2 separate regions of the Homo sapiens genome follow, and region 1 is linked to region 2. Evidence: promoter capture Hi-C in human tissues and cell types (Jung and others, 2019). All regions are on one chromosome and are shown on one strand. The core of a region is centred on a gene start or on the middle of the fragment in contact, and the rest is flanking DNA. Distances in the headings are between cores, read along the strand shown. Region 1 has its middle 63 kb from the start of TRA-AGC15-1. Region 2 holds the start of EML5 (EMAP like 5).

What was found. Contacts are between HindIII fragments. The study calls those that stand out against the background at their distance.
Region 1: a fragment that was not itself captured here is called in contact with the fragment with the promoter of EML5 in region 2 in 2 of the 25 tissues and cell types used here (aorta and heart left ventricle).

The regions. Positions count from the first base shown.
Region 1 is chr14:88,913,024-88,919,657 of GRCh38, reverse strand. No RefSeq gene overlaps it. Among named protein-coding and RNA genes, the nearest start is that of TRA-AGC15-1, 63 kb to the left of the region's middle. The HindIII fragment of the contact is 4,961 bases long and covers 1-4,612 here.
Region 2 is chr14:88,789,411-88,796,029 of GRCh38, reverse strand. EML5 (EMAP like 5) reads left to right here and starts at 3,077. Exons shown (of 44, transcript NM_183387.3): 1 at 3,077-3,723. The coding sequence starts at 3,527. RefSeq lists silencers at 2,937-3,296, 3,487-3,566. The HindIII fragment of the contact is 27,448 bases long and covers 1-6,619 here.

The DNA of each region.
Region 1 (6,634 bases), core at 883-3,382, 120 kb before region 2:
AGAACAGAGGTCACAGGGTAGCTGGGCCAGGAGGAGGTGAGGCCTGTTATTTCACGGCTTTGTTGATAACTCTGAATCTATTATTTTGCTTTTCCTTCTGTCTTTGTTTACCTATTTGTTCCTTTGCTTGTTCTTTCTCACTGCTGGTTTGCAAACCAGGAGTACATACACCTAACTTGAACTGATATCATTATTTTTGGTAACAAGTCCTTTCACTTGAGAGTTTTAATTCTACAAGGGTAGGGCCAATGAAATAGTGTAGGCTGGCTAGGAACAGGTTGCTCTGGGGAAGAAAGTGTCCCCAGTGAAAACTTGGTGACTGAACAGCACATACTCATTGCAGACTTCTTAACGTTGCTTGAGGGATTCATTTGCCATAATTAAATACATGTATTAATTTATTCAATATGAATCTGGAGCTTGCTATAAACAGATGTCTCCACGGAAGGGTGCTGGAGAGCAAACCAGGTCTTATAATTTGTAGTCTGAGTCCTTGTGACCTTTTTTTGATTTGGGGTTCATGTTGAAAGCCACCGTTCATTTCTCTGTCATTGTATCTCATCTTCAGTCATTATAGAGGGAACCACATCCTCACCCCTGGGACTTCTCGAAGGGAATTGTTCATTAAGCCAGTCAAATTTAATCTCCATATTGTTAAAAATCTCCCCAACCCTTTTATATGATGCAATAACAAACAAATGAAAAGCAGCTAGAACTTGTATGCATATAAGTAGATCCCGAACAACAAAAGGACCAGTTTTTCTGGCTAAAAGCAAGCCTGCCATTACATTGAGGCCATGCCTTCATTCCTACTCACTCAATTATACTTGAGGAAGAGATGGGAAGCTAATTCTCTACCTGCCCCACAAAACTATTCCATTTCACAACCCATCTACACTATCACTTACATCGATAGCTCATGTTGCTGGCAGTAAAGTGCTGTGATCTTATTCCATTTTAAAACAGTCCTGGAATAAATGGTGCTGAAATTGCTCAGATCTAGCCTGCTATCTTCTACCCCAGCATACAGAGAGAGAACAGAACAGATGAAATGCTGGGCTTGCCGACCCCGTCTCTCCTTTCCACTTTGTGGTCTTAAGAAAATCACATAATCAGAAGTTCAATTACCTTATCTATAAAATAGGAAGAAAAGGCCGGGTGCAGTGGCTCACGCCTGTAATCTCAGCATTTTGGGAGGCCAAGGCGGGTGGATCACTTGAGGTCAGGAGTACGAGATCAGCCTGGCCAAAATGGCGAAACCCCATCTCTACTAAAAATACAAAAAAAAAAAAAAAAAAAATTAGCTGGGCGTGGTGGCAAGTGCCTGTAATCCCAGCTAATCAGAAGGCTGAGGCAGGAGAACCTCTTGAACCCAGGAGGTGGAGGTTGCAGCGAGCCGAGATCACACCATTGCACTCCAGCCTGGGCAACAAGAGCAAAACTCTGTTTCAAAATAAATAAATAAAAATAAAATAAATAAAACGGGAAGAATGATATCCTCAATGTAGATTTTTTAATGAGGATCACACAAAATAAAGTAGGTGAAAGTGCCGACGTTTGTTAGAGCAGAGCATTTCAGACTTTGACGTGTGTATGACCGTGTGGGAATGGGATACAGGTTCTGGCTTTGTAGCTCAGTGGTGGAGCCTGAAATTCTGAGTTTCTAACAAGCTCCCAGATGATGCCAATGCTGCTAGGCCATAGACCATAACTGGAGTAGCAAAGTGATTACTGTGTTGTCCAGTGTGGTAGATGCTGGCCACAGGTGTTCATTTAAGTTTAAATTAATTAAAATGAAATAAAATTTAAAATCCAGTTTGTTAATTGCAGTAGCCAAATGTTTAGATGTCCACAGCCACCTGTGACTAGTGGCTACCACTACATTGGACAACACAGACATAGAACATTTCCACCACTGCAGAAAGTTCCACTGGACTGTGCTGTGTTAAGCACCATGGTGATGTTTAAAAAGCTATTCGATAACATTCAAACAGTGTTTACTGATCGTCTTTGTATTTGTCAGGGTTCTCTAGAGGCACAGAACTAATAGGATAGATGTATATATGAAGGGGAGTTTATTAGGAGAATTGGCTCACATGATCACAAGGTGAAGTCCCACAATAGGCCATCTGCAAGCTGAGAAGCCAGGAAGCCAGTCCGAGTCCCAAAACCTCAAAAGTAGGGAAGCAGACTGTGCAGCCTTCAGTCTGTGGCCTAAGACCCAAGAGGCCCTGGCAAACCACTGGTATAAGTCTAAGAGTTCAAAGCTGAAGAACCTGGAGTCTGATGTTCAAGGGCAGGAAACATCCATCACGGGAGAAAGACGGAGGCCAGAAGACTAAACTAGTCTAGTCTTTCCCTGATTCCTGCCTGCTTTTATTATGGCCGCACTGGCAGCTGATTAAATTATGCCCACCAGGATTGAGGGTCAGTCTGCCCTTCCCAGTTCACTGACTCAAATGTTAATCTCCTTTGGCAACACCCTCACAGACACATCCAGGAACAGTACTTTGTATTCTTCAATGAAGTTGACACTCAAGATTAGCTATCACAATCTTCCACGTATATTTCTAGACACTAATGAGATAGCAGTGAGCAAAACAAAGTCCTTGCCCTTGTGGAGCTTACCTTCTGATTTGAATAAATAAGAGATTGTAACTAAATGGTCTTGGATACAGCAGCTCTCTCATAAGCAGACTCAGCTTTATCCTACAACAGCCTCACAGCAGAATTCATCACTTCCTCACAGCCCCTGAAGCAAAAGCCACTCAAATAACCATAAGTGAAGAATTAGTCTGAAGATTTTACTGAAGATTTCTTAAAGGATGCTACAGGGAAGTCTACATTGCATAGCCCAGAATACTGTTTAATATTGTTTTTCTTTTTCCTTTTAAAATTACACAATTAATACATGTCAAATAGGATTTTTACCTGCTTTCCACTCCCAACCCCCAAAACGCCCTGTCTGATACTTCTTCCTAAGTCTCTCTGTTTTGGGTCACCGAAGAGATCTTCCCAATATTCTCATTTTGCAGAGAAATTAATCTCTGCCCAGTTCCTCAAGCCTTGCATGCCTGTTACTTCTATACCTTTTACTTCTTTGAGTTCTACCGCAGCTTTCATTCGAGATGAAGTACACCTGCCCTCACGTTGTTGACCATGAAACATTGGTGGTAATCACCAGCTCACAAAAGCCAGTGGTGCTTTTATCTTCCCAACTTTGTGTTCAGTGACCTCATATTAGAAAGCTTGAAATTCATCTGAGTGGTAGTATTTACACCATAGAAATTGGCATATGCTACAAACTAGGTCTTTTTTTTTCCCCAGAGAACCAACTGTTAAACGTGTGGTAGCACACCACTGGGTGTAGAGAACATGTAGAGATGACATGGTGCCCAGTGTCATTTAGAGCTTATTGAGAGGACTCTGTTTCATTTTGTAGCCCCAGATGCTTCTTCCTCTTTGTTTTCTACTGTGGGGTCTGAAAGCTGTCTCACTCCTCTGAGGGGGACCCTCCCTTGCAAGACAGAGGAGAAGCAGCCACTCTGGCAAGTCAAAGAACATCATCCCATGGCTTAAAACAGAGTGGTCCTCTGGGCCGGGAGAGACGTCAGGGAGAAAATAAGAATGAACCACATCCCTCCACTCCATTCATTGATAGGAAACCTACAGACAGCACCTGATACTCACCTGCCTTCAGGTGTGCTTTCTTTGGTTTATCGTGAAACCAGCCAAATTCATTTTTCTCTGTAACTGTTAAATTGAAAATCAGTGACATAAAGAGGTGATAAGGGAAAACTGGGTTTGACTTCCGGTATCTCACAACTGCCCTTAGTGGACTGCAACCACCGTGGTAACACTCTAGAAGTATGGAACAAAAACTAGTTTACAGTCACCTCTGCTCAGAGCGGGGGTGGGGGAGATGGAGGAGTTAAATGCAAGGATGTGAAAATCATTTGGGGGATTTGCAAGAAGCTCTGGCTAAGGCAGCCCCCCTGGGCAAGCTTCTCTTCAGCTCCTATTTTCTGTTGGCTGTGGCTTGAGCCAGCTCTACACTATAGCTGTGGGCACTGCCTCATAAGAGACTCTTGCCTCCCTCCTATCATTTTTGCACTTCTCTTTTCTGTTTCTTCTCAAGTCTGACTTGACATTCAGTGAAGCCTCTTTTGCTTTGGATGAAAATCCTAGAAGTGGTGAGGGAGGTGGGGTAGGAGAGGCTCCCACTATGATTTAGCCTGGGTTTCAACAGGGCCCCAGGCTCACCCCACTCACGGCAACACTGGATGTTAGGTTCTGCCCTAACCCTTCCACCCCTGCACCCTAAGGCTTTAGTGGAGAGGCCACAATGAGAGAGGCTGCTGCCACCAGCGGAGAAGATAGGAAAAGAAGGAAAAGAAGCATTTGTGTGAGGAAAGCCTCCGTGGATGGTACACCTGTCCCCTTGGCCCTTGACTCATTCTTCTGTTCCTTAATGCCATCTGGATCAGCTGTGGGCTCTCTTGCCTAATTATAGTTCATAAGGGCCAATTTTGTAATGACTTGGCACCTAAATTGAGCCTGCACCTTTTTCACACTGCAGTTTGGGCTTTAATAGCTTGATTAAGTAGGACAGCCAACTCGGGTAAATCACCTTGCTTGTAAAGAGGTGTTTAGGGCTATATGAGGGAAAAAATGCCTTTACAAGGTGGACGGCTTAAAGGTAGATCCAAATGCAGCATCTTGACTAGAAATTTCAAGCCAGATAGGCTGGGTTTAAAAATATGGGGCAGGGGTCCAAGCTGCAGCCCATGTTTTGTGGTATCTCCTCCCTTCTCCTCACTCTCAGCTGATGGCCTTATTTCACTGGAACAATAGGAGCAATTAGAAGAATGTCACCTGCCCCCAAGGAGACATCTTTCCGGGTAGCAGTGCCTATATCTTTATACTCTTGTCTTTCATCCTGTTGCTATGGGCAGAGCTGTCTACACTTCTATTTAAAACCAAACCCAACACTGGAAGCCTTCCCCTCTTACCTTCTGCGATAACCCTCTCTTGCTTGCATCGCCAAGTTTCTCCCCTGCAAGACAGTTCTCTGAGTGACCTTGAACCAACCCAATTTTCCCTCCCCCTTTTTTGCATGTAGTCTCAAGAATAAGAGTAGAATGTGCTGGAATGCAATATCCTGAGAAAAAGCTCAGGCTTTATTCCTCTCTCCCCCAGAAGGAAGATGTCCTTCAAAGCTTTGCCCAGGGAGTCCTGTTTCTCCCAGGGTATGAAACCCAGGGCAGGCTGCCTTTTGAGGGTCCTCAGCTGTGATACAAAATGGGACACAGGCAGTCAAGACCACGTTCACCTTGGGCAGTTTTCTTGAGCCTTGAGGGATGAGCTCACAATGGATCCAAGACTTCTGTCCCTTACTGTTATCTATAAAAAATAAACCTGCTTTACATAACTTGTGTGTATGTTCTGTCTCACTGGACTCAGACAAATAGATAACCAGTATGAGGTGGACTTAACAGTAGCCTAGGATGTCTCGGGCATAAGTACATGGACTCCTGGTTTCTGGTGCTTGGCATAATGACATTCTCTGCAATTCTATACTCAGTGGGAGTCTCTCTTGAGATTGATGATTAGTGAGCCTGCTCCATGCCCCCTCTCTGCTGGATCATTTCTATCAGCATATAAACACGTCGTACACTGCCTATCTAGAAACAAAACACAATCAAAACACAGAAATAAAAACCTCCTTTGACCTAACGTCTACAATCCAGGTGCTGCCAATCCCTCCCTCCCTTTTACAGAAAAATACCTTGAAAGGGTTGGTTATCTAGTTTTACGGGCTCAACATCTCTCTTTTTGGTTTTTCTTGATCCTCTCACATAAGCTTTTCATGCCTAACACTCCAGTGAAAGAGCTCTATATCCAATGGTCAAATTTAAGTTCTCCTCGAACCCTATCAACAGATTCATGTGACCCTGTTGAGCACCTTCCTTCTTGAAACACACTTCACTGGACCTCCAGCCCTCCACTTCCTCTCTTGGTTTTCTTCTTACTCACTGGCCACTCCTCAGCCTGTTTTACATACTCCTCAGCCTCTTTTGCTGCATCCTCCTGATTTTCCCCATCTCCAAAGTTTGGAGGATACAGTCATTGGACAGCTTATCTTCTCTATCCGCATTTCTTTCCTAGGTAATCTCATCCAGCCTAATGGCTTTAAATACTATCTTGTCATTGACAATTCCCAAATGTGCCAGCCTGGACATGTCTTCCGAATCTCAGCTCTTGAATCCAGCTGCCTCCTGTACAGCTCCATTGGGATAGGAATTTCAAGCTGAATTTTAACTCCTTTTTTTTTTTGAGACAGGGAAGTCTCACTCTGTTGCACAGGCTGGAGTGCAGTGGCACAATCACTGTAGCCTTGACCTCCCACACTCAAGCAATCCTCCCACCCCAGCCTCCTGAGTAGCTGGGACTACAGGTGCATACCACCACACCCAGCTAATTTTATTATTTTTTGTAGAGCCAGGACCTCACTATATTCCCTAGGCTGGTCTTGAACTCCTATCCTCAAGTAATCCTCCCACCTTGGCTTCCAAAGTGCTGGGATTACAGGCATGAGCCACTGAACTGAGTGAATTTTAACTCTTGATTTCTC
Region 2 (6,619 bases), core at 1,828-4,327:
ATTACAGGCGCCCGCCACCATGCCTGGCAAATTTTTGTGTTTTTACTAGACATGGAGTTTCACCATGTTGGCCAGGCTGGTCTCAAACTCCTGACCACCCACCTTGGCCTCCCAAAGTGCCGGGATTAGAGGTGAGAGCCACCATGCTAGCTAGAAGTAATTGCATGAATTTTTTTTTTTTTTTTCTGAGATGGTGGCCTGCACCACCACACCCGGCTACTTTTTTTTGTATTTTTAGTAGAGATGGGGTTTTGCCATATTGGCCAGGCTGGGGAATTTTGGTTTTTATGTTTTCTACATTTTGCCTTAGATTTCTTTATAAACCTAAGGGTACCTAATCAGTAGCCAGCACATGATTTATTTGCCTGAATTTTAGAAATATTTCAAATATCTCAAATTCCATACTAGGAACTCAAGTTTCAGGAACTAGATTACCAAAGGGGGTGATATGGTTTGGCTGTATCCCACCCAAATATCACCTTGAATTGTAATAATCCCCACATGTCAAGGGTGGTGCCAGGTGGGGATAATTGAATCGTGGGGGTGGTTTCCCCCATACTGTTCTAGTGGTAGTGAATAAGTCTCATGAGATCTGATGGTTTTATAAATGGAGCTCCCCTGCGCAAATTCTTCTTGTCTGCTGCCATGTGCGACTTTGCTCCTCTTTGCCTTCCACCATGATTGTGAGGCCTCCTTAGCAATGCGGAACTGTGAGTCAATTAAACCTCTTTTCTTTATAAATTACCCAGTCTCAGGTATGTCTTTATTAGCAGCATGAGAACGGACGAATACAGGGGGTATTGCAGCCTTCGTCTGGAATGCTTAACAAATGTCCATTTGTTGATGTGTATAATTTTTTGTTTCTTTCTCCCACATCCTTATTTGCATTACTTTCACAGGATACAGATGATGGAATATCACCTAGCAATAGAAGCTTCATTAAGCTTTCTGATGTGACATTGGTAATACTGGATTATATAAAGTTGTGAGGGTAAGAACTGATCAGGTTTGTTTTTTTCTTCCTCTAGTATTCATGAATGGTTCATTTTCTAGCCACCTTTGTGCCTCGGCTGTCTCTTTTGGTCTTGAGTCGCCAGTTGAGGATGGTTTAATTAAGAATGTTTTTGCTTCGCACTCTACACTTGGGTCATTAAAATCGTAATGGAAAATATGATAATGGGAAAATAAATTACTTAAATCTCTTATTAATCTGAGTACTTAAGTGTGTATCATGGGATCCATAAGATATTGTGCTGAAAAATCCGAAACATAGAAAAAACTATATTCTTCCATCTCGTCTCATAAAATTTACATGTAACCAGTAATTAATATATCACAAATGTATAGCAACAAATATTTAATGTTTTCTAAGTTCACTGCTTGAATTTAAATAATCAACAATTTTTCTTTTTCTCACCAGGGGATTTCAAGGAACTCACTAGTGAATTAGAACATATTCTTATTAAAAAACAGAAAACGCCCTCCTGGTGACAAAGAGAAACTGTGTGTGCTTTTGCCCAGGGTACCCTACATGGGCCTTAGAGCCACTTCTCAGGCCTGATTTCTTTGTTTATTTGCAGCAGCTGCCAGAAAGCTATTCCTCTTTTTCAGATTCTGCCCAGAATGGAAACTCTTTCAGAGTTTACTTTTCATGACATCTATGTAAATTCCTTTCAGATGGCCTTTATTTCCTGCATGTAAACTGCTTGCAGATTAGAAGTCATAATCAAAGACGAAACGGTAATCCTGTCTCAAGTTAGTAACTGGCATCTTTGAGGAAGTAGACATTGGATAACATCTATTCCAATATATCTGTACCACACAGGAGTCAACCCCTTTTGGAGTCATATTTCTTGAAACGATGGTAGTTTATTTTAGCTTTTGTCAGATTTCTGTCTTGGTATTTCCTATGGAAATCAAACAGTAATTTTTAGACAATAAGGGTTCATATTGGTATATCCTGAATTAGTATTTTTTTGTTGTAAATCTTGTGGCCATCCTGAACTTAACACTTTTTAAATTGTGGATTTCCAATTATTTTTAGAGGTATTGATAAATCTTGTTCATATTCCTGTGAGAAGAGGACACAACTGAGTAGGAGGGGAAATGACATAGTCAGGAATTGATTGTTCCCAATACTTTTATTACAGGAGTTTTCTACAGGATCACAATTGAATTTATTTAATTAAGAGTAACTGTTGGTGATGTCCCAGTCATTTTTAAAAAAATCGAAGTACAATTTTTTTTTTTTTTGCTATTCGGAAATCAGATCTCACATGTCAGTTTACCATCTAAAGTCTACCTTCAGCTTTGCGGTCACTTAAGAAAACATACACTTAGGACCAGGAGCAGTGGATTGGGCCTGTAATCCCAGCGCTTTGGGAGGCCTGAGGCAGAAGAACTGCTGAAGGTCAGGAGGTGGAGACCAGCCTGGGCAACACAGCAAGACCCCCGCCTCTACAAAATAAACTTAAAAACAAAGCAAAACATTTGCCGGGCATAGTGGTACGCAACTGTACTCCTTACTACTCCGGAGACTGAGGCGGGAGGATCGCTGGAGCCCAGGAGTTGGAGGCTACAGTGAGCTGAGACTGCGCCACTCCACTCCAGCCTGGGCGACAGAGCGAGGCTCTGTTTCTAAAAATAATAATTTAAAAGCACATTTAGGAAGCTCGGCATCATTCCAATGTCTGGGTCCGAAAGCACTATAAGGCAGCAAGACACACAAGGTATCAAGCGTAAAAAAGAGAATTTAGCATCCCGGTGTGGATTTTCCCAGGCAAAAACGTGGCCTACGCTGGGTGCAGGGACCGTGCGGAACCGGCAGGTGCTTCCCGGTTGAGGACGCAAAGCAGCGGGAGCCCGGGGTCGCCGAGGGTCCGCCTGGGCTTAAGCAGCTCAACGAGGGAGGGCTCACCGGCCCGCGCACTTGCAGAGACGCGGTCCCAGCGACTCCGCAACTAGACCGTGGCCCCGCGAACTCCAGCCTCTTCTCGGCTCCGGGAGGGGCGGAGTGAGCGCGGGAGGGGGCGGGGCCACGCAAGGCCGCGCGCCCGCCGCTCGGCTCGGCTCGGCTCGGCTCGCTCGGTTTCGGGGTGCGCGGCGCGGGTCCGCCAGGCTGTGGCTACAAAGCCGCGGCGGGGCGCGAGCGCCGCAGGTGACCGGGGCTGGGAGCTGCGTGCGCGGGCGGCGGCTGAGGAGCTGGAGGCGGGCCCTCGCTCTCGGCCCAGGCGCTACGGGCTGAGGAGACTAGGCGAGCCGAGGCGGGCGAAGGGCTCTGGGCATCCACTTGACAGCCGGCGGCGCTCGCGGCCCTCAGCATGTTCCGCGAGGCGAGGGTTTTCCTCCCGCCTGTGGGCTGAGGCGGCGGCGGCCCCCGAAACGAGATGCACCTGACGGGCGCGGCTTAGAGGACGCGGCTGGCGGGAAGTCCCGGCAGCCAGCGGGAGGGCTTTCGTTGCCGGGCCGCCGCCGCCTCCCGTCGCCGCCGCGGGCCCGAGCGGGAGCGGCGGGTGGGCGCCCCGACATGGCGGCCCGGAGCGCCCCGAGCTGCCACCTGCGGCTCGAGTGGGTGTACGGCTACCGGGGCCACCAGTGCCGCAACAACCTCTACTACACTGCGGCCAAGGAGATCGTATACTTCGTGGCGGGGGTCGGCGTGGTGTACAGCCCGCGGGAGCACAGGCAGAAGTTCTACCGGGGCCACAGCGACGACATCATCAGGTACCGGGGAGCGGGGGCCGCCGCCGTCACCCTGCAAGCCGCTCCCGGAGTTTGCACCCGCGGGTTCCTCTGGACGCCGTGACCGCTCCTGCACGGAGCATCACCCCGAGGGGAATCCGCAGCTGTCTCTCTGGTCCCGAGTCCACCAGTTAACACCCTACAAATGCCTTTCCCCTCTTCCTCGTCTAGGGACTCTCTCTCGGGTCCGTGCAGGAAGATCAGGTCCGCGGATCCACCGGGCACCCGGTTTGACGGCTTTGTCCCCTTTCCCACTCCATCACAATTACGAAAACTGCGAAAAGGTTATTTTGGTGGCACTTTATTCCGTTAGATCCTGTGAGAAATTTCTTATTAAACGCATTCTTAAAGCACCCGGGGTGGGGGGAAACCCTTTACCTAATAAAGGACTGATGGAAGCACAGCAAGCGGTGGGCTGCTCCCGGGGAGCGCGCCCAGGGTGGCGTCCTGAAGGGCTCTCACCTCCTGGCCGTAATTATTAGTTCAGGTTTCACCGCCTGCTATAATCAGCAGAAACCCCAGGCAACCTCCAGGCAATTCACTGGATGTTAAAATGTGCACACCTGAAGGCAATTTAAGGTAGGTCTTATCTGAAGAGGCTGCTGAAAACTTCACTGATTTCCAGTTCTCTTCATCTTCATTAAAATACTCCTAAATAAGCTACTTTTGTATTTTCTTAAAATTAAATCGCTATTGGGGGGCTATTTTTAGTCTTCCTTGGACAATAACTCAAAGTTGGTCCCAGAGCTTGTTGACATTTCTTTAGTGAGCGGTATATTTGAAATGTAATTTTCAATCAGTGTCTTAGTACAACTTTTATGGTAAAGTCAAGAGCTTCAGAAATCATTCTAGGCCACTGATTATTGCCTCAAGCACAGCATTTTTTGTCCTTTACAGAGGAAAATATATTAAAAGCAATTGAGAATGTGTTTGTGTGGTGCTCTTGGGGTTTTATCAAAGATTCTACGATTTGGGTTTGGTTACAAAATGTTATTCCCTCATGTATGTTGCACAGGATTTAAATTGGGCATTTCAAATACGGTACCTTGGTTTGAAGTCTTGTAGGCAAGAAGCCCTGGTATGTAAATTCCACAAATAAAGTTGTTCTTCTGTTTTGCGTCTCTGTACATCTATAATATGTAAGAGGGAAAGGATGCCTAGGACAAACAGAGGTAGGGCAAGATGGAGTAAAGATAAGAAAAGACAAAATTGAGATTGCAGAGTAAGGAATGAGGTGGTGCTCTGTATTCAGTTGGTTTTTTTTGTTTGTTTTTGTTTTTTGGACACCAGAGTGCTTTTTCAGATTGTATTTAATGTATTACTTTGAAAAGGTAACTGATAAGTCATTTCATTTTTCTCAAGCTGGGACTCTGTATCGTGGTGATTAGGGTTACAGACCTATTATAATAGCCCAAATTGCTGATGGAAAAACAAAACTAAAGTAAACCCGTAGTAATTATTTATCTTCTTAGTTATCCCAAGAGTAGAGTTTACCCCAGTGTCTTGTCTTTTTCCCTAATCCTTTCAAGTCTCCCTTCTTTTCCATATGCTAGGTCTCCCAAAGTACCAGGCATAGTAGCTTTACCTAGCTGGAGCAGCCTTAACTGAAGCCCTGCTCCAGATAATTTAGTCTGTTAGGTTGAATTCAGCTGGTGGAGTAAATGTGAAGGATTTTGAGGTCTTCTCGTGGTACACTTGTATTGTTTTTACTCCTTGGGGGTTATGAGAGCAGTATAGCACTAAGGTCTTCTGAAACTAGATATGATTTATTTGGTGAGGTAAATTACATCTTGTTCTTCTAGCAGTAATTAGAAGCTGTGTTATATGTCACACCGCTTAAATTTCATAATTGTGTTTCAGTAAACTGTAAGGAAGGTAATGCTTTGACTTTCTTTTGGTATAGTTGCACAACTTATACAAAACAACAAACATACTCGAATTTCTCATCGTTGAATATACATGCTTATGATTTTATCCAAATGACACATCTTTAATGTATAACAATGAAAATAAGTTTCCTGAAAAGTTTCAATGAGGGAGTAAAATCTGAATCATACAGCATCTTGAAATTGGTGGCACAAATTTAATATGATACTGAGAATATAATTTAGGAATCAGTGAAAGGGCTCTGGACATTTTATTTCAAATAGTAATGACAGATCATTCATGTTTGTGAAATATATTGAGCTAATATTAAAACCTCAATATTTTTTCAGTTCAGTGTTTGACTTGTGAGTATAGAAACAACTCTAGTAATTTTTAAATTATGCCACAGCAGAAGATGTAATATTCACAAATGTGATGCATAGTGAAAACCAATGTTGCTGTAACCTTAGCTTTAGTAATAAAAAGTCAGTGCTGTTTTCATCATCTGTTTTGTTTCCACCTTTGCCTGAAACTTATGTAAAACTTATTGGTCAAATATTACTTAGTCTGAGGATAGAACTGTTCCAGAATGAGCAGATCATTGTCCTCAGGTTTTGAAAATGTGAGTGCAATGTTGGTGGTAAAGGCTGAATCATGACTAGTCTATCATTTGCTTACTGGTTCTTTGACCATTTTATTATCACCTGGGATTGCCAGTGGTGGTGCCACATGACATTTCATCATTTTCTCAGTAAAGGCTGAATCATGACTAGTCTATCATTTGCTTACTGGTTCTTTGACCATTTTATTATCACCTGGGATTGCCAGTGGTGGTGCCACATGACATTTCATCATTTTCTCAGTAAAGGCTGAATCATGACTAGTCTATCATTTGCTTACTGGTTCTTTGACCATTTTATTATCACCTGGGATTGCCAGTGGTGGTGCCACATGACATTTCATCATTTTCTCAGTGTTGCTTGTAGTTCTCCATCTTCTTTTTGCCATCTAC